7 separate regions of the Homo sapiens genome follow, and all the other regions are linked to region 5. The links are contacts of gene promoters, found by promoter capture Hi-C in blood cells and fetal thymus (Javierre and others, 2016). All regions are on one chromosome and are shown on one strand. The core of a region is centred on a gene start or on the middle of the fragment in contact, and the rest is flanking DNA. Distances in the headings are between cores, read along the strand shown. Region 1 overlaps DIS3L2 (DIS3 like 3'-5' exoribonuclease 2). Region 2 has its middle 22 kb from the start of ALPI. Region 3 holds the start of ALPG (alkaline phosphatase, germ cell). Region 4 has its middle 6.9 kb from the start of ALPP. Region 5 holds the start of DIS3L2 (DIS3 like 3'-5' exoribonuclease 2). Region 6 holds the start of ALPI (alkaline phosphatase, intestinal). Region 7 has its middle 36 kb from the start of ALPP.

Region 1 (2,817 bases), core at 316-2,815, 300 kb before region 5:
ACACTTCATAAAGAAGATCATGTCTTTCCTCTTTCCTTTTTTTTTTTTTTTTTTTTTTGAGACAGAGTCTCGCTCTGTCACTCTGTCACTCTGTCACCAGGTTGGAGTGCAGTGGCACGATCTGGGCTCACTGCAACCTCCGCCTCCCGGGTCCAAGTGATTCTCCTGCCTTAGCCTCCTGAGTAGCTGGGACTACAGGCACATGCCACCATGCCCGGCTCATTTTCTGTATTTTTAGTAGAGACGGGGTTTCACCATGTTGGCCAGGATGGTCTCTAACTCCAGACCTCGTGATCCGCCCGCTTTGGCCTCCCAAAGTGCTGGGATTACAGGCATGAGCCACCACACCTGGCCCCTCTTTTCTTTCTTAATCACAGGATTTGGGTCACTCTTCTGTAGGCAGGTGAGTTTACTGCACATACTCTGGAATACCACTGTTCAGAATGTCAAATTAAATACAGTGCCAACACTGACTGAAGGCGTATTACTGGGAAAAAACTACTGAAAAAGGAGTACATAATTATGTACTACAGCACTGTAATTCAAGGCCTACCTACTGTACTAAGTAAGACCGGAAGTAGTCTAACACTCGGAGTATTCTTAAACCTACTACTTCTAAAATCTCCTTAACACATCTGGGAGGAGTGCATTGTTCAGCCCATTTTACAGTTGAGAAAACAGGCCAGGAACTTGTCAAAAGTCATACAAACTCCTAAGTGGCGGCCAAGACCAGATCCAGTTAAAGACAGACCCAAAATCTAGTGTTACTTTTATTCCATTTCAGGTGAAGGTCATAAATTAGACAGAGGCAGATGATGAAGTAAAATAAACCAAGTATGTCTCAAACACACATCAACTTTCTATATTGATACAGAAGTATGACCACTTCCTTTGAAAATTATTCAGTTCCATTCAAATGTATCTTTAAATTTATCCTCTGAAAAATGTCAGCACTTCATTAAGATGTATCTCTGGCTGAAAAAACTGCAAGTGGGGTTAACTTATAATCTTAAATAATTAGGTACAAAATCACTTTTGCAGGAGCTCCGGGCTTCCGTATGCAAAATATTTTGTTCAAAAAAATATGAGGAAGAAAGAAACCTTTTCCTGACTGGAACAAAACCAGGCTGTTTGGAGTGACGGAGGGTGGGAGGGAGGTGGAGTGGATTTTGGCTGCTTCTTAGAGCTACGAAAACAGGGCAATCATCCTTAGTAGGGGCAGCCCGGCAGTGAGAAAAGTCAAAGGTGCCAAGAAGCAAGTGTCTGAAAAGGACTAGGCAGAGAGAGGACGGGCTGGAAGAGAGCAGAGAGAGGCAGGTCATGCCTGTGGTGGAAAGGACGCAAACTTGCTAGGGAAGGTCCTAGTAACTGCAGAGGACAGAGGCAGTGGGGTGGCTAGAGCAAACAAGAGGCTACTCCACAAGCCCCAGTCCTCACACTAGGGCCATCATCACTAAGCAAAGCTCAGGCTTCCCCTGAAAAAGGGAGAGACGAACACAGTAAGATTAAGGCATGAATATCTAGACTGAAGCACCATTGCACACAATCCACTTATACACCCAGCAGAATGCTCGCTTTCTCTTCACAGGTGGCTCACTGCAACTTCTGCCTCCTGGGTTCAAGCAATTCTCCTGCCTCAGCCTCCCAAGTAGCTGGGACTACAGGTGCCCACCACCATGCCTGGCTAATTTTTGTATTTTTAGTAGAGACAGGGTTTCACCATGTTGGCCAAGCTGGTCTTGAACTCCTGACCTCAGGTGATCTGCCCACCTCAGCCTCCCAAAGTGCTGAGATTAAAGGTATGAGCCACCATGCCCAGCCAAATATTTATTTATTTATTCATTCATTTATATTTTAGAAACAGGGTCTCGATCTGTTCTCAATCTGATCAAGTGATCCTCCTGCCTCAGCCTCCTAAGTAGCGGCAAGGCAGAGAGAAATTTTGATGTGGAAAGGGGGACCTCAGCAGTTGAAGTTGGCTAGCCTCTCTCGTTTCCAAGAAGGAGGAATGAAAGGTACTTGGGAGAATGATGGGTCTTAAAGGAAAGAGGAGTGGAAAGCAAGGTTGAGGTTGGAACCGAAGAAAAAAGGCTTGGAACCTAGTGACGAATAAAAGGATTCCCAAGTAGCACTGAAGGTTCAGCTGAGAAAGCCCCAACTGGTACACAACATAGTTCTACAATGTCCAATTCTCAGAATGGAATGAGTTAAGCAGGGAGGAAAAGATCTGCTCAGCTACAAGGAAGGGGCAGAGGCTTGAAGGATATGAGAAGATGGCAGGTGGGGAAACTCAACCTTGACTGATGTCAGGTCCCTGGAGCTGGGGAGGGGGCCTGCAGCACAGCAGAGAGCTCAGTTACACATAAAAGGCAGCTTCTCTCCTGTGAGCAGCAATGCTCCAGGACATGAGAGGAGATGCTGGTTGCAGGAAGACTCTGGAGTCTATGCATTTCCAGCACAGAAGACAGGCAGAAAAGAACAAGGAAAAAGTTACCATTGTAAGGGGGCGTTTTATCTTTTATTGTGAATGAGAGATTGGAAAGTTTTAATGGAGAGACAAGGCTTAAGATTCAGAAGGATCACTCTGACAGCTGTATGCAGAGGAGATGACGTGGGGCAAGAGCAGAGGCTGCAAGGACAGTCAGGAGGCCACTGTATCTGTCAAGGTGAGAGAGAATAGCTTGGACGCAGGTATTAGTGCCGGTAGTTAAGGAAGGGGGCTGATTCTGGAGGCATTCAGAAAGCAAAGCAGCGATGACACACTGGCAGACTGGATGCAGATGTAGCATGAGAGAAAGACCAAAGTCAAGAATGACC
Region 2 (2,700 bases), core at 111-2,610, 470 kb before region 5:
GTGCCACTGCAGTCCAGCCTGGGTGGCAGAGTGATACTTCATTTCAAAAAAGAAAAGAAAGAGCAAGGCTGGAGACTGGGGGCCACAAGGGCGCCCTCTTCCCAACTGGGCACAGCGGGGCAGGAGCTGATAAGCTCCCAGGCAGAGGCAGTAGGAAGTGGCCGAGAAGCAGCTCTGGGACTTCAGAGGAGCCTGCGGGTTGTCCCCAGTGTGAGAGCTGCCAAGAAGAGCAGGGGCTTGCACAGGGCCCTTGGATTTGGCCAGAAGGAGTAAGTCACAGTGGCAGTGCGGCTGGAGAGGCTGGTTCAGAAACCCAAGAGGACGGAGGGAGGGAGACTGGCAGGTGTGGACAGTTCCCCACCAGGTTGCTGCTGATGGGGCCGGAGTTGGCCTGGGGGAGATGCGGGGTGTCTGTCTGCTTCCTGCTTGCTGTCTGAAGCATCCCAAAGGCCGGAATGTATCTGCAGAGGAGCTCACAGAGGGAAAGACCCCAGGAGAGCAGCCAGCTTATGGGACAGCCCGCAGGGCCCAGGGCAGGAGGAAGGAGCTCAGGGTGGAAGCCTGAGGTCCTGTCCTGGGGAGGGCAACTGGCCAGCTCCCAGGACGGAGCACCGCTGTGGTGTTGGGGGAGATGAGGAGGCCTGTCTGGGTGGGTCCTGAGGCCAGCCCCTGCTCAGTGTCCACAGCTCTGTCCTGACCATGGTCCCTGCAGAAAGGGTGGGTGCAGTCAGATGCCGCTTCCTTACAGCATCCTGGAGGCACTGAGGAGTGTCGCCCAAGCCATGTGACAGTGGCCAAGAGATGAAGGACCTTGCCCAGATCAGACAGTCAGTCAGGGGCACAGAGGGCTGGACCCCACCTCCCTGGGCCCCTTGACCAGCGCCCTGCGGGCCCAGGTCAGACACTTGCCCTGACAGCCCTAGCATGGAGGAAACAGGCTGGAGGCCAGACAGGTGACCCTGGAGCTCAGGTCAGAGGACTGCACCCCTGGATCTATCTTTTCCAGTCTACTGGGCACAGCAGAGAGGAGAAAGCAGAGAGCATGGCCACCCCACAAAGTGGGGTTCAGGTTCCATCAGCTCAGCTCTGGCCTGGCCACACCCCAGCTGCCTCCTGTCCCCTCCCTGAGGACTCCATGGCTCCAGAGGAGTCGAGGGAGACTGGGCCGGCAGTGGGTCTCTCCTCAGGCCCAGGCACGTTGCTAAGGCAGGGCCCAATCTCCTGACCTAGACTGCTCGGGCCTGGCCCTCAGACTCTCGGCTCCTCTGCACTTGGCCTCTCAACCCTGCCTGGCAAGGAGGACGTGTCTCCAAGGCTGTCCTGTTTCAGATCCACGCACCTGCTGAAGTGCTGAGAAACTCACCTCACCCCTTCCCCACACAGGACACTCAGAGAGTGGCTTTGGAAATGAGCGGGAGCCGGGGCAGAGGAGCAGGACCAGTGCCCAAAGCTGAAAATGTGTCCATTTTCAAAGGCCAAAGGCAAATGTGGGACAGAAACAGCCTCTTCTGCCCTCAGCCACCAGGGCCCTTGTCACGCTCTGTGGGAGGCTCCTGCTAATGGAATGAGGCCACTCACAGAGCTTGTTCAATTAGCTCTTGCTGAAAACTGCTAACGTGGCTTTGATAAGAATTGCTCCCAGCCAATTTCAGCCTCATTTCTTCTGCAGACCAAATTTTCCACACTTGAGCACATGCTCCCTGTAAGCTCCAGAGCCCTGGGCTCTGCCGAGGCCATGAAGGCAGCTGCTGGGCCTGTCTCAGAAGCTGTGTACCCAACCATGGCCCGTTCTCCATGGCCGGGCAGCCCATGGGGTGCAGGTGACGGCCACCTTTACGTAGAACCTGCTGTGTTCTTAGCAGCTGGAAATTGAGTGTAGTGTGGTGGGAACCGCAGGGCCCCGGGAGGCAGGGGTCTACGGAGCACTGAATTGCAGGCTGCTGGGGAGGGAAAGTGGAAGAGATCTTGGTGGCAGCTCTGTTCCAGGCCAGGCCGGGTGGGGCTGGGTGCCTGGGAGCTGGAAAGTGGAGGCCTGGAGAAAGGGAGCCGCAGGCAGAGCACCTTGCCTGGGTCGGGGAGGGGGATGGGGAGAAAGTGCAGCTGCTTGACTGATGGACCCCCACCCACAGCTGGCCATGCACCCTGCTGCCAGTCTCCAGCAGAGGGTGCCGTGGCCTCTGGGTGGCCCACCAGTCACAGCTCGTGCCTCTCGCTGACCCCTCTCCTCCTGGGCACACTGCAACCTCCTGAATGCACTGGACGTTTCCATGAAACCACAGGGAAATGAATGGGGCCCAGTTCACAGGCATGGAAAAGCCCAGAGGAGAAGGCCTCTGGAGCCAAACATCACATGCTGCAGGGGAGGCCAGAGCCAGGTTTCCTAGGCTGGGAGGCTCAGTCCACAGCAGGGCCTTGTCACTACCATCATCCTGCTCCTGACTGCCGAGGGCGCCTCCTCCCCTCTGCCAGGATCACAGCAGCTGCAGAGCCCAGGGTCACCCATCTGAACCTGGCTCTCCACCTGCCCGGCCACCCCCCAGGGACAGAGCCTTTCCCCTGGTCTGCTCCCTGCCCCTAGGCCCTGAGGCTGGTCACAGGCACAGGCGCACACGCATGGGCCCCTGCAGCCACCGCCTGGCTGGGCTGGGACACTGTTGCCACCTTAGAAGCCTTGCTTCCAGGCCCCCACTTTGCCTCTGC
Region 3 (2,700 bases), core at 162-2,661, 450 kb before region 5:
GATGGGGCAGGTGGATTTGGGGGCCTGGCTGGCCCCGTGTCCCCTCCTCATGCACAGCCCCTGACTCCCCTCCCCAAGGCTGTGGGAATGGCCCAGCCTGGGCTGCGCCTTCTACGCCCCCAACCCCACCTCCAGACCCTGCTGGCCCAGATAAGGCTTTTGGTTGCCTGGGTCTGAGCTGGTGCCCCCTCCCTGCTACTCTCTGCCCAGCCCCAGCCCTTGGCCCGGGGGTCGCACATCAATGTCCATGTTGGAGATGAGCTGCGTGGCGATGTCCTGGCACCCCTCCTGGCGGGCCGAGGCAGGCACGTCGGCATCCGAGTACCAGTTGCGGTTCACCGTGTGGGCGTAGGCGCCGGCTGGCGAGGCATGCTGCACCCGTGTGGTGGTTACCACTCCCACTGACTTTCCTGAGGGTGATAGAGGTCAGGATATGCGATAGAGGTCTGTCACCTGGCCCTGACCCCACAGCGGGCCCCAGCTCACCTGCTTTCTTGGCCCGATTCATCACGGAGATGACCTCGTTGCCGCGTGTCGTGTTGCACTGGTTAAAGCGGGCGGCTGCACTCAAGCCAATGGTCTGGAAGTTGCCCTTGACCCCGCACAGGTAGGCCGTGGCTGTGGCTCCACTGTCTGGCACATGCTTGTCTACACTGTATGTCTGGGGACAGAGACACTCTGAGCTCTTCTCTGGGGCAGACAAACAAGACCCTGATCTCTGTCCTCTGGGATTCCAACTGCCTCCAGCTCCTTATTGGAGCCCCAGCTGTTTAGGGTCCCTCCCTCCTACCACACTCCATAGCCAGGATTCCCCTTCTCTGCTTGGAGGACTCTAAGGTAGCCCAGCACTTACCTTGGACAGAGCCACGTACGGGAAGCGGTCCATGGCCAGGAAGGTCTCAGGCCCCAGTTTGTCCTTCTTCTGCCCTTTTAGGATCCTGGCAGCTGTCACCGTAGACACCCCCATCCCTGAAGGAGCAGAAGTGTGTGAGGCTTGCTCCCCAGGGCTGTCCTGGAACCACTGAGGGTCCGGGCGCCGGGGCTGTGAGGGCTGCGGGGCTGGAAGGCCTGGCTCACTCACCGTCACCCAGGAAGATGATGAGGTTCTTGGCGGCTGTCTGTGCAGGCTGCAGCTTCTTGGCGGCACCCAGGGCCTCGGCTGCCTGGCGGTTCCAGAAGTCCGGGTTCTCCTCCTCAACTGGCCAGGGGGAGAGCAAAGATCAGGTCAGCCTGGGCTGGGGGGTGCCCTGTGTGTGTGTGTGTGTGTAGGGGCAGCTGGGGGAGCCTCATTACCTGGGATGATGCCCAGGGAGAGCTGTAGCCTCAGGCCCAGCAGGAGCAGCACCCAGGGCCCCTGCATGTCTGGAAGCAGTCGGAGAGCGGCGAGGCGGAAATCCCAGGTATGGAGTATGAGCTGCACTCCAGGCTGCCTGGGTTTAAATCAGGGAAAACTGTGTCCTGGCCCCTCCCCTTGTTACCACCTTGACCCCGCCCAGCCTCTTGACCTGAAGCCACACTGGCTGAAGGGAGTGGCAGGGTGTGGCTGGGCTGGGCTGGGGCTGGGGTCCTGAGAAAGGCAGCTTAGGGTGGGACCAGGTGTCCCCCAGGGAAGGGTGGGATTTTGGGTATAGTGCAGTGTGCATCCTGCCGCCAGGGGCCCCTCCCCCAACCCCTGCTCACTGTGTCTTGTGTGGAACTAGACACCCTGTCACTCGTTCATCCACCATTTTTTTTTTCTGTATTTCCTGGGAGCTGGGGGCCAGGCTCTGTTCTGGTGTCGAGAGGAGGGGAGGCTGGAAGCACACAGCCCGGGCCAGATACTGGGTTCAGCTTTCTGATGCCAGGAGCCTGGGCCCGGTGGGAAAGGGGCACATGGGGGGCTTTGCCGCTCTGGCACCCCCTTGCTCCAACATCTGGCCTTGGCCTGGACAGGTGGGGCTGGCAGGAATCTAGGCCCAGAGCTCCAGGGCTGTGGGCATCTGTGGGGCCAATGGTGACAACACTGAGTGGGGCCGGGCCAGTCCTGCCCATTGCTTACATGTTGTGTTTGATTGTGTATGTGTTTGTGTGGGTGCACTCGCACTAATGTTTGGACGACGCAGTGGGGGAGAGTCCAGTGCCCTCGGCCAGACAGGCCTGGGCTGGGTCTTCCAGAGCAGCTTGTGCACTTGATTGTGACACCTGTTCCCTTGCACAGGCAGAGGGTGCCTGGGCGGACTCTGTTTTCGGTGGGCCCTGAGCATGCCCAGAACTGTAGCCTTTCACATGGGGATCAGATGTTTTGATAGCCTCAGGCTGAGTTAAAAAGTATTTCTGCAGTTCAGATACCTTGCCATCATTTTTTTCTTTCTGTTTTATTATTATTATTTATTTATTTTTTTGAGACAGGGGCTGGCTCTGTCACCCAAGTTGGAGTGCAGTGGTGCATTCACGCCACACCTCCTAGGCTCAAGCGATCCTCCCACATCAGCCTCCCGTGTATCTTCCATTATGTGAAGCTAATTTTCAAAAATTTGTGTAGAGTCAGGATCTCTTTCTGTTACCCGTGCTGGTCTTGCACTCCTGGGCTCAGGCGATCCTTCAACACTGCTAGGGTTCCAGACTTGAGCCACCAATCTGGGCCCACATTCAGGAGAAATGGATTTGGAGAGGAACCAGAGTGCTCAAGGGTGTGTGACATGTGCCACAATCGTGGGCAAA
Region 4 (2,700 bases), core at 8-2,507, 420 kb before region 5:
TCGGCCCAAGGGTGGACCCGGCGGCGCTGCCCAGCACTAGGTGCGCTCCTTCTTCCGCTTGTGCCTCGAGATGCGCGAGATCGAACGACTGAACCCGCTGCTCATGCTGGAGGTCATCGAGGACTGCGGGGGCTGGGACCTGCGCGGCGCGGCGGAGCGCCGGGGGGTTGCTGCGCGATGGGACCTCAACTGGCTGCTGTAAAAAAGTGCAGGGCGTGTACAGCGCCGCCGCGCTCTTCTCGCTTATGGTCAGCCTGGACGACAGGAACTCTTTGCGCTACGTCGTCCGTGTGAGTGCGCGCGTTGAGCGCCCCGCCAGCTGCCGTAGACCCGGGGCGCAGTGGCCTTGCCCAGGGGTCCCTGAGGGCGGGAGGAGGGTGCGCGAGAGGAGAGGAAGGGAAAGCAGGGGAGGGGAGGGAGCGCACAGTGGCAGCGCGCGGGAGGAGGTCATAAGTAATTTCCCCGGGGTAACTGCGGTGTTCAGCGGTGCAGCCATTTCCCAGCCCTCTGGCAGGCAGTGGGGAGCGGGTGGGGTGCGCGGCAATATATTCAAGCTTATGTACAAAGCATTTGAGGTCTAGTTGAAGAAACAACTTGAAGAATGGTCTCGCAGCAATTACAAACAAATACCCTTCAGCAATTACAAGAAGGCTTTCAATGACTGAACCCGAATACTTGGTTGTCTGGGTTAAACATACGCATTTGGGTGATGGCCGCTATATTCTTTTTTGTATCTGATTGCTAGGGTGATGGCCGCTATATTCTTTTTTGTATCTGATTGCTAGGCTTCTGTAAATGGCTCTGTGCTGCCACCCGAAGCATCTATGACCAGGGAAGAAGGATAGAAGCTTATTTTGCGTTGGATAACCAGCAAGCTCTAAGAATTAAAGAAGGGGGAGATGTGGGGGGTGCACGACGATATATTCAAACTTATGTACAAGGCATTTGAGCTCGAGGCATGGAAAAATACTGAGGCACTGTGTGTACGTTGTTTGTGCGTGAGAATGTAACTCCTTGACACTGAAAACAGGACAAGGAGTGGAATGTGTGATAAGGAGCGCTGAAAACAGCCTCCTAGGAATGTGGTCTGAGTGCTTTTACAAGGCCGTATGTGCCTCATGACCCCACGGCAAAAACCCATCTGGTGGATGTTTGTGGTTTAACAAGCCTTCTAATAAATACTTGGCGGATGGATTTTGGGGCGGCACTCTCTCAGAGGAGTTGCCGCCTGCCCCACTCAGCTGGAATTGTCTGAGTACTTCATTCTCTGGCGTTCACAGCAGCTACAAGCTGCAAGGGGTGACCCCAACGTGACCACCTTGAAATTACGCGTGGAGCAGGTCGACTCATCAACTTTGGGTACTAAAAATACCAAAACTTAGCTGGGCGTGGTGGCGGGTGCCTGTAATCGCAGCTACTCAGGAGGCTGAGGCAGGAGAATTGCTTGAACCCGGGAGGCAGATGTTGCAGTGAGCCGAGATCGCGCCATTGCACTCCAGCCTGGGCAATAAGAGCGAAACTCTGTCTCAAACAAAACAAAACTCTTGCTAAGGAAAGAGCAAATTTTTGAGCAGAAGTTTGAAAATATTTATTTGACACTTGATTTTGGGGTAAACAATGTATTAGACTCATAAACACTCATACCTACACAGGAAAAGGAAGCTTGAGAACAGAATGACCTAATTTCAGAATAATCTTTTTCCTCTTCTTCTTCTTCTTTTTCTTCTTCTTCTTCTTCCTCTTCTTCCTCTTCCTCTTCCTCCTCTTCTTCTTCTTCCTCTTCTTCCTCCTCCTCTTCCTCTTCCTCCTCCTCTTCTTCTTTTCCTCCTCCTCCTCCTCCTCCTCCTCCTCCTCCTCCTCCTCCTCCTCCTCCTTCTTCTTCTTCTTCTTCTTCTTCTTCTTCTTCTTCTTCCTTCTTCTTCTTCCTTCTTCTTCTTCTTCTTGGGATGGAGTTTCACTCTCGTCACCCAGGCTGGAGTGCAATGGTGCGATCTCGGCTCACTGCAACCTCTGCCTCCCGGATTCAAGCGATTCTCTTGTCTCAGCCTCCTGAGTAGCTAGGATTACGAGTGCCTGCCACCACACCTGGCTAATTTTTGTATTTTTAGTAGAGACAGGATTTCACCATGATGGCCAGGCTGGTCTCAAACTTCTGACCTCAAGTGATCTGCCTGTCTCGGCCTCCCAAAAGGCTGGGATTACAAGCATGAGCCACAACTCCTGGCCAGAATAATCTGTTTTTAAAATGTCTTCACTTTTAAAATATAGAAGTCCTTGGGTGTGAGCACTCATGTAAAACCTAAACATGCAGCACCTCCACATTGGTTAGAAAGAGGAACTTTCTAACCCACTGACAACTGGGAAGATAGAAATACACTAGCTGGATTTTACCAAAACCTTTGCATATTTGGTGGATGGAATGTAACAATGAGTATGATGATTTAGTAAGGCCAGCTAATGGTGTCTACCTTCTGTTCACCTCCCATATTTTTATGACAGCCACTAAAACCTAGAATTAGAAAAGAAAAAAAACTGTCCTGAGAGAGCCAGGTCCTCAAATACATGTATATATTTTTCCAGACAGGGTCTTGCTCTGTTGCCCAGGCTAGAGTGCAGTGGAGCAATCTTCTTTCACTGCAGCCTCGACCTCCCTGGACTCAGTTGTTGTTTTTGCAGAGACGGGATCTCACTATGTTGCCC
Region 5 (2,700 bases), core at 160-2,659:
ATTTCACCCAGCAATCCCACTGTTGGGTATATAACCAAAGGAAAACAGACCATTATACCAAAAAGACATATGCAGTTGTATGTTCACGGCTGAGCTATTCACAATAGCAAACACACGGAATCAACCTAGGTGACCATCAATGGTGGACTGGAAAAAAAAAATGTGGATGTACAGGATGGAATACTATGCAGCCACAAAAAAGGAAGATATCATGTCCTTTACAGCAGCACAGATGGAGCTGGAGGCCATAATCCTAAACGAATTAGCACAAGAACAGAAAACTAAACACCACACGTTCTCACTTATAAGTGGGAGCTAAACATTGAGCACACTTACAAGTGGGAGTAGAAACATTGAGCGCACATGGACATAAACATGGGAACAGTCGGCCGGGTGCGGTGGCTCACGCCTGTAATCCTAGCACTTTGGGAGGCCAAGGCGGGCGGATCACGAGGTCAAGAGATCGAGACCATCCTGACTAACATGGTGAAACCCCGTCTCTACTAAAAATACAAAAAAATTAGCCGGGCGGGGTGGCGGGCGCCTGTAGTCCCAGCTACTCGGGAGGCTGAGGCAGAAGAATGGCATGAACCCAGGAGGCGGAGCTTGCAGTGAGCCGAATCGCGCCACTGCACTCCAGCCTGGGCGACAGAATGAGACTCCGTCTCAAAAAAAAAAAAAAAAGGTAACGGTAGACACTGTAGACTACTGGAAGGAGGGGAGAGATGGGGGATGTGGGTTGAAAAACTACCTACTGGGTTCTATGCTCAATACCTGGGTGCAATATACCCATGTGACTAACCTGCATGCGTATCCCCCATATCTAAAAGTTTATTAAAAAAAAAAACTCTCTATGATCAATAAAGGAGATAAAGTGTATCACTGTGGAAAGCGCAAACGTCAAGGACATGTTATAATTAAGCGGCTGCCCTTCAAGATTCCCGAGGCTCCCCATCCCTGCCAGTCCTGAACATCTCGATCAAGACCCTAGAGAACGCGTCCACAGGTGACCCGAGCCTCGGGAGGCGTCCTCTCTACAGCAACAGGCTCTAATTCTGGTCTCGCTCCCCTCACGCCATCCTAGGCTACAAGGGCCCCGGCGCTATAAGCGCGGCCTGGGAGGCCGGGTCGGTCAGGAGCGGAGAGTGGGGAGCTGGGGACATTGAGGGAGATGCGGGACAGGGAAGACGCGTGGGCCGGGGAGCAACGCCAGAGGCGGAAGACGCTCGTCCCGGGCCGCCACCACAGGTGCCGGGCGAAGCGCCGCGGAGCCCCCCAGAGGCCAGACCCCGGGTCGGTCCCGAGGGGGTCGTGCAGCACTAGGCGGTGCAGGGGGCAGGCGAGTGAGGGCCTCACCGTTTCTCCCCGGAGGCCGGCGCCGCCGCAGTCCCGCAGTTGCTAAGGAGAATGCTCTTCCGGGTCACGGGCGCGGCGTTCTAGAGAGCGACGGTGGCCGGGCGAGGCCGAGAGCGAAGCGCGCGGGGTGTGTGCGCGGTGCAGGAGCTCGTAGTCGGCGGTTCAGCTGCGACAAGGGCGAAATGGCCAGGCCAGGGGCCGCCGCGCCTTCTCCGGCCTCGCTCGCGGGGACAACTGGCTGCAACGGTTGGCTCCCAGTGGGCGGCCTCTGAGACGCCTTGTGCCAGGCGCCGGCTGGCTCCGGGCCCCTCTTCCACCGGAAGGAGCCTTCCAGACCCGGCTCCTGAACCTCCAGGCTCTGCTCCACTGGGCCAGGTCTTGCACGGCAGACGCCGCCGGCCCCTTTCCTGTTACAAGGCTTTGCTCATTCTTTCATTTACTCACTGCTCATTTATTGGACAACTGCTTGGGGCGAGGTGCAGTGCTGGCACTGGGGATACAGAGATGGACAACCCCCGCATGGTCCCTGCCCTCAGGATGTGAGGCTGATGGCAGAGCAAGCAGATGACGTCCTGCACGTGGGGATGATCGAAGGAAAGGAGACTAGGGGAGCCTGCCCAAGGGGCCCACCCAGACACGGGTGGGGAGCAGCTGATGTTGGAGACGTCGACCTAGTATAAAGGGTTGGGAAGAGGGTTTCAGGTGAGAGAGGAAGCGCAGCCGAGAAAGCCCCCGACAGTTCAGCCCGCCCAGGGAAGCGTGTTGAGAGGAAACAATCGTTAAGTACGGGACCTAGGAAACACCAATATTGTAGATGTGAGCAAAGGAAAAGGAAATCCAAAGAGCAGCCAGAACGTTCGGGAGAGCACAAGAGGAAAGAATGCCAGTGAGGGGATGGCCGCCATTCTCAAGCTATGGAGATCAAGTGTCCATTGGTGACCATAGAAAAATCAAACTTCCCTTTGGGAGGCCGAGGCGGGCGGATCACCTGAGGTCGGGAGTTCGAGACCAGCCTGATCAACATGGAGAAACCCCGTCCCTATTAAAAATAATAAATTAGCCAGACGTGGTGGCACATGCCTGTAATCCCAGCTACTCAGGAGGCTGAGGCTGGTGAATCGCTTTAACCCCGGAGGCGGAGGTTGCAGTGAGCCGAGATCGCACCATTGCACTCCAGAAAAAAAAAAAGAGAGAGGGAAGGAAAGACGGGAGGGCAGGGCAGGGTAGGGATCAAACTTCGGGAATACAATGTGGACAGATGCTTGAACCACCGTATGCTCCATATTGAAAAAGGAAAAGAGATGCATTAAATTGTGCCTATATTTCTCTTTTTTTTTTTTTTTT
Region 6 (2,700 bases), core at 8-2,507, 490 kb before region 5:
ACCCAGATCAGGCTTTTGGTTGCCTGGATCTGAGCCTGTGCCACCTTCCCCTCTGCCCAGCCCCAGCCCTTGGCCCGGGGGTCGCACGTCAATGTCCATGTTGGAGATGAGCTGAGTGGCGATGTCCTGGCACCCCTCCTGGCGGGCTGAGGCAGGCATGTCAGCATCTGAGTACCAGTTGCGGTTCACTGTGTGTGCGTAGGTGCCGGCTGGCGAGGCGTGCTGCACCCGTGTGGTGGTCACCACTCCTACTGACTTTCCTGAGGGTGACAGAGGTCAGGATCGGTGACCGAGATCTTGGGCCTGGTCCTGACCCCACAGCGGGCCCCAGCTCACCTGCTTGCTTGGCCCGGTTCATCACGGAGATGACCTCATTGCCGCGTGTCGTGTTGCACTGGTTAAAGCGGGCGGCTGCACTCAAGCCGATGGTCTGGAAGTTGGCCTTGACCCCGCACAGGTAGGCCGTGGCTGTGGCTGCGCTGTCTGGCACCTGTCTGTCCACATTGTATGTCTGCGAACGGAGACACCCTGAGCTCTACTTCGGGGCGGACACCCAGACCCCAACCAAGGACCTGGTTCTGGTCCTCTGGGATCCTAACTGCTCCCAGCTCCTAACTTAGGCCCCAGCTGTCCTGGCTCCCTCCCTCCTGCCACACTCCATATCCTTGATCCCTCTCCTCTGCTTGGAGGACTCTGAGGTGGCCCAGCCCTTACCTTGGACAGAGCCAGGTATGGGAAGCGGTCCATGGCCAGGGGCGTCTCAGGCCCCAGTTTGCCATTCTTCTGCCCCTTTAGGATCCTGGTGGCTGTCACCGTGGGCACCCCCAACCCTGAAGGAGCAGAAATGTGTGAGTCCTGGGCCCCAGGGTTGTCCTGGAACCACTGAAGGTCCCGGGTGCCGGGGCTGTGAGGACTACGGGGCTGGACAGGCCTTGCTCACTCACCATCGCCCAGGAAGAGGATGAGGTTCTTGGCGACCTTCTGGATGGGCTGCAGCTTCTTGGCAGCATCCAGGGCCTCAGCTGCCTGGCGGTTCCAGAAGGCCGGGTTCTCCTCCTCAGCTGGCCAGGGGGAGAGTAGAGATCAGGTCAGCCTGGCTGAGGGGGTGCCCTGTGTGTGGAACAGCTTGGGGAGCCTCATTACCTGGGATGACGCCCAGGGAGAGCTGTAGCCTCAGGCCCAGCAGCAGCAGCACCCAGGGCCCCTGCATGTCTTGGGGGCAGCAGGAGGGAGGCGAAGTGGGGACACCAGGAACCGGCTGCAGCGCAGGCTGCCTGGGTTTAAATCAGGGGAGGACTTTGCCCCTGGCTGTAAATGCTCCACGTCCCTCCCCACACCCCTGGTGTCCATCTTGACCCCGCCCAGTCCTGTGACCTGAAGCCAAGCTTGCTGAAGGGAAGGGACTGGGTGTGGCTCACAGTGTCTTGTGGGAGACGCGTTGCCACTCCTTCATTCACCTCATTCAAGGTGTGAAGAGAGGTGAGACTGGAAACACACAGCCTAGGCCAGGGCCCGGGTTAGGGCTCGTAATGTCACGAGCCCCAGAGGAGTGTGAAAGGAGGCACACTGGGTGGCCTGGCTGCCCTAGAACCCACTTGGTGTATATGGGTGCCCACACCTATGTCCTGAGGACGCAGGCTGGGAAGGGGCCAGTGCTCTGGGTCAGCCAGACCTGGGCTGGGTCTTCCAGAGCAGCCTGTGCACTTGAGGTTGACCCCTGTTCCCTTGCACAGGTAGATGGAGCCTGGGGTGAGTCTGTTTTCCATGGGCCCCGGGGAACACCCAGAAGTGTAGCCTCTGATAAGGAGTTCAGAGAGTTTGGTAACCTCAGGCTGAGTTCAAAAGTATTGCTTCAGTCCAGACATCCCACTCTGAGTGTGTAGCCAAAGGAATGCGAACTAGGGACTCGAACAGATAACTGCACACCCATGTTCCCAGCAGCATTATCCACAGCAGCCAAGAGCTGGAAGCTACCCAAGTGTCCAGCAAAAGAGAAATGGAGAAACCAAACAGGGTGCACACATACAATGGAGTATCACGCAGCCTTGAAAACAAAGGCGACCCTGACACCTGCTACAACATGGATGAACCTTAGGACATTATGCTCAGTGAAATATACCAGTGCAAAAGAACAAATACGCACGAACACACTTCTCTGAGGTCCCGAGGGGAGTCAAATACATAGAGACAGAAGTGGAATGGAGGTTGCCTGAGGCTGAGGGAGGAGGCAATGGGTTAGGGTTGGGGTTAGGGTTAGAGTTGGAGTTTAATAGGGACAGAGCTTCAAGGTTGCAGGATGAGAATGTTCTGGAGATCAGCTGCACAACACTGTGCGTGTACTCAACACTGCCGCCCTGTACACTTGAAAATGGTGAAGGAGGTAAACTTGATGTACCGTGTTTTGTAGCACAATTCAAAAACTGGTTCAAGAAGAAAAGGCTCCTCCAGCTCCACCCACCCCAGCCCAACCACAGCAGCCCCTTCTCCACTCGAGCCTGTTTACCTCAAACCCCAGGCTTGGCCCTCAGAACCCAGGGGACCTCACCTGCTGCCCAGCCTCTGCCTGCCCTGCCCCACTCCCCACCACGCCTAGGGCCTCCCTCAGGCCGAGCTTTCCCGGGTCCTCCTGCCTGCGCCCTCCTGGCTTCCCGGTGGTCGTCCTGGGGCTCTCAGGGAAGATGTCGCTCTCATAGGTCCTTC
Region 7 (2,700 bases), core at 144-2,643, 380 kb before region 5:
ACCTTTTAGAAGTCTGGCCTTTTCAGCCTTTACCTGTTTACTTTCTTTCCATAATCTTTCCTTCTCCGCCACAAGGAATTCCACATGCTTCTTCAAATCTGCAACTGGGTTGTCTGCTCCTCTACTCTTATCGTGTTTTGGGGCTTTGCTTCCAATACACGGCTCTGTTGCTGAAGGAAAAACAGTCGTGTGTCTGGATCCCTGTCACATATGCCCCGAGTCTCAGGCAGGCGTTCCTCTGTGGAGGGCTGTGCTTCTGCATCTTCAGCAGAGGGGCTGTGAGAGGCCTGAAGATGGGCAGCCCCATCCTTGTCTGCGTTCTGCTGGGCCCTTTTCCGTGTCTCCTGGATGAGGAGGCGCGGTTTCATGTGGCTAGGCCTTTGCAATTCCAGTGAAAGGTGAGCCTACTCAGCCTGCGTCAGCTCCATAGCTTCAGAAAGATACAGCATGGCCTTTTTGTGACAGGAAATAGCCTCTTCATATTTGCCTGCAGCTAGTCAACAGTCTGCTTTGATGATGAGCCAGGTTGAGGGGGCCTTCAGTTACTTCCAGAAGACCCCAGGGTAGGCGGCAGTGCCGGGGAACATGGAGGGGACAGCAGAGCAGTGTGATGCAGCTGTGGACACAGCAGCCCCTCTCAAATCTTTAACCTGCCTCAGCCCTCCCAGCCCCCCCACTCTGACTCCTATCAGCCCTTGAAATCTGTGATTTCGACCCATGAACACCTCTTTGATCTGTGCCCAGCAAGGGCTGGGGCACACTCTTCTGCAGAAAAGACCCATCGACCGTGCAGCCCTTCCCCAGGTGGCACAGCTGCTCCTGGCTCACGGAGCTGCCCAGGGACTGGCCCCTCACCCTGGGCTCCCAGGGGCCCCAGCCCAGCCTGGGCTCACACATGAGCCTAGAGGTTCTATGGAGGCAATGAGGATTTGTCACTGCCATGACTGCTACTTGAGGCTTTAAGTAGAAGACCATACGCAGCCTTCTAAACGAGTGGGAACCTGAGGTTGCGTGTCAGTAGGAATTTTATCTGTTGCTAGAATAGTGGACTCTTTCATACACCCTATGCTGAATGTACAAGAAGCCTTGGAATCCAATTGTGGATCATTCCTGTGCTATTAGCATGAATACATTTTTTTCAACTTCAGTTTTTACTTTTGTCCAAGTTATATGTGAATGTAGTTTAAAGTATCAAACAGATCTACAAGGTTTGTTAAAACAAACAGCAGTTCCGTCTCCCTCCTTGCATTTTCCCATCTCTGAGGCAACCACTTTCCTCTCTCTTGGTGTTTTACTATTTACCACTGTTGCTAAATAAGATACTTCTTCATGTCTGAATTTGAAGCTATGTGTATATATGTATATATGTGTATATATGCATATATGTGTATATATGTATATGTGTATGTGTGTATGTGTATATATGTGTATGTGTATATATGTATGTGTATATATGTGTATATATGTATGTGTATATATGTATACGTGTATATATGTGTATGTGTATATGTATATGTGTATATATGTATATGTGTATATATATATGCTACACACACACACACACACACACAGCCTACTGATGTTCTATTATCTATCGTTGTGTGACAAACTACCCCCAACAACCTTAAAAAACAATCATCTATCGTCTATATTTTGATCACAAAACTGCCATCTGGGCAGGGCTGATGGGACTGCCTGTGTGTACTGAGGCCTCAGCGGGCCTGGCTTGCAGGTTGGGGGTCTGCGTGGCTGCCCAACTGGTGCTGGCTGTGGGCTGAGAGTGGGCCCCTCCATAAGGGCTTCTCCAGAGCTGCTTGGGCTTCCTTACAGAAGGGCAGGTAGGTTTCCAGAGACAGAGAGGGGAAGCTGCCAGTCTCTTAAGGCCTGGGCCTGCAACTGGCACAGTGTCCCTTCTGCCATATTAGCTTAGCAGCCCTGGGGCCTGTCAAGATTGAAGAGGCGGAAAGAGAGTTTACAGTCATCTTCAAGCCACAGCTTCCCACTGAGGAAAATGAGCATTTAGCTTCCATTTCACCAACTGCATTCCCTGCATGTGGACAGCGTCCCCATCTTCCAGTCCTCCTGATAGAGTTCTGCAGTAAACTAGATCCTGACTCGGCATTTCTATGGTGATGACTGTGTAAACGCTATTGCCAGATCGTAAACTGTGACTAGCTACCTCTTCTTGCTTGCACTGCTGTTTTCTCTGGAGCCAATCATGGTCTTATCTTCACATGTGGATCATTCTGTATGTACTACTAATCCAACCCGAGGCTCTATGCGAAGTACTTCAATGTCCTCCAGGCTCTTCTGGGGAATTCAGCTTTCTATCCATGTCACTCTACTGCTGCCCTGGGTGGGACGTCCCGGGGCGGGTTGCCAGGCACCACCTGGGGCTGAGCTGCTCCCTCACCACTGTCCCGAGCGCTTGCCCCACCGCAGCTTGAAGGACCCTGGGTCCTGTCACTACGGTTTCCTCTTTGTGGCTTCTGCCCTCATTACTGCCCATCTTTCCTGAGAAGGCGAGGGACATGTATCTGTTGAGAGCTCACCTGTCTGCAGTGTTTTTACTCTAGTGGCGCTGAAATGTGTCTCCACGGTGGCAATCATTGTGCCTCCAAGGGCCCTTGTTTTGCTCTCTAGGAACTTTTTGGAGCAACCTCCTCTCGTTTCACGATGGCTTTCTCACCTCCAGGAAGG

The links. Contacts are between HindIII fragments. The CHiCAGO score rates a contact against its expected background, and 5 or more counts as called.
Region 1: a fragment that was not itself captured here is called in contact with the fragment with the promoter of DIS3L2 in region 5 in 1 of 17 cell types (fetal thymus); the score reaches 5.2 in fetal thymus.
Region 2: a contact is called between a fragment that was not itself captured here and the fragment with the promoter of DIS3L2 in region 5, in 1 of 17 cell types (naive CD8 T cells). The highest score is 6.6, in naive CD8 T cells.
Region 3: a contact is called between the fragment with the promoter of ALPG here and the fragment with the promoter of DIS3L2 in region 5, in 6 of 17 cell types (neutrophils, fetal thymus, monocytes and 3 more). The highest score is 7.0, in neutrophils.
Region 4: a fragment that was not itself captured here is called in contact with the fragment with the promoter of DIS3L2 in region 5 in 1 of 17 cell types (neutrophils); the score reaches 5.4 in neutrophils.
Region 6: a contact is called between the fragment with the promoter of ALPI here and the fragment with the promoter of DIS3L2 in region 5, in 2 of 17 cell types (naive B cells and M2 macrophages). The highest score is 8.9, in naive B cells.
Region 7: a fragment that was not itself captured here is called in contact with the fragment with the promoter of DIS3L2 in region 5 in 1 of 17 cell types (neutrophils); the score reaches 5.4 in neutrophils.

What each region holds. Positions count from the first base shown.
Region 1 is chr2:232,255,840-232,258,656 of GRCh38, reverse strand. All of the region lies in intron 12 of DIS3L2 (DIS3 like 3'-5' exoribonuclease 2), which reads right to left. Among named protein-coding and RNA genes, the nearest start is that of MIR562, 85 kb to the right of the region's middle. The HindIII fragment of the contact is 3,979 bases long and covers 1-2,817 here.
Region 2 is chr2:232,432,913-232,435,612 of GRCh38, reverse strand. No RefSeq gene overlaps it. Among named protein-coding and RNA genes, the nearest start is that of ALPI, 22 kb to the left of the region's middle. RefSeq lists an enhancer at 2,619-2,700. The HindIII fragment of the contact is 6,734 bases long and covers 1-2,700 here.
Region 3 is chr2:232,405,555-232,408,254 of GRCh38, reverse strand. ALPG (alkaline phosphatase, germ cell) reads right to left here and starts at 1,411. Exons shown (of 11, transcript NM_031313.3): 1 at 1,294-1,411; 2 at 1,082-1,198; 3 at 854-969; 4 at 487-661; 5 at 238-410. The coding sequence starts at 1,360. RefSeq lists an enhancer at 148-1,347. The HindIII fragment of the contact is 10,567 bases long and covers 1-2,700 here.
Region 4 is chr2:232,384,290-232,386,989 of GRCh38, reverse strand. It overlaps the pseudogene ECEL1P2. Among named protein-coding and RNA genes, the nearest start is that of ALPP, 6.9 kb to the right of the region's middle. The HindIII fragment of the contact is 814 bases long and covers 851-1,664 here.
Region 5 is chr2:231,960,422-231,963,121 of GRCh38, reverse strand. DIS3L2 (DIS3 like 3'-5' exoribonuclease 2) reads right to left here and starts at 1,409. Exons shown (of 21, transcript NM_152383.5): 1 at 1,357-1,409. RefSeq lists a silencer at 1,152-1,311 and an enhancer at 1,442-1,531. The HindIII fragment of the contact is 14,565 bases long and covers 1-2,700 here.
Region 6 is chr2:232,454,710-232,457,409 of GRCh38, reverse strand. It overlaps ALPI (alkaline phosphatase, intestinal), which reads right to left and starts at 1,257. Exons shown (of 11, transcript NM_001631.5): 1 at 1,144-1,257; 2 at 945-1,061; 3 at 715-830; 4 at 337-511; 5 at 88-260. The coding sequence starts at 1,210. The HindIII fragment of the contact is 3,629 bases long and covers 1-1,387 here.
Region 7 is chr2:232,340,968-232,343,667 of GRCh38, reverse strand. It overlaps a transcript of DIS3L2 not described here and the pseudogene NRBF2P6. Among named protein-coding and RNA genes, the nearest start is that of ALPP, 36 kb to the left of the region's middle. RefSeq lists an enhancer at 318-827. The HindIII fragment of the contact is 5,996 bases long and covers 1-2,700 here.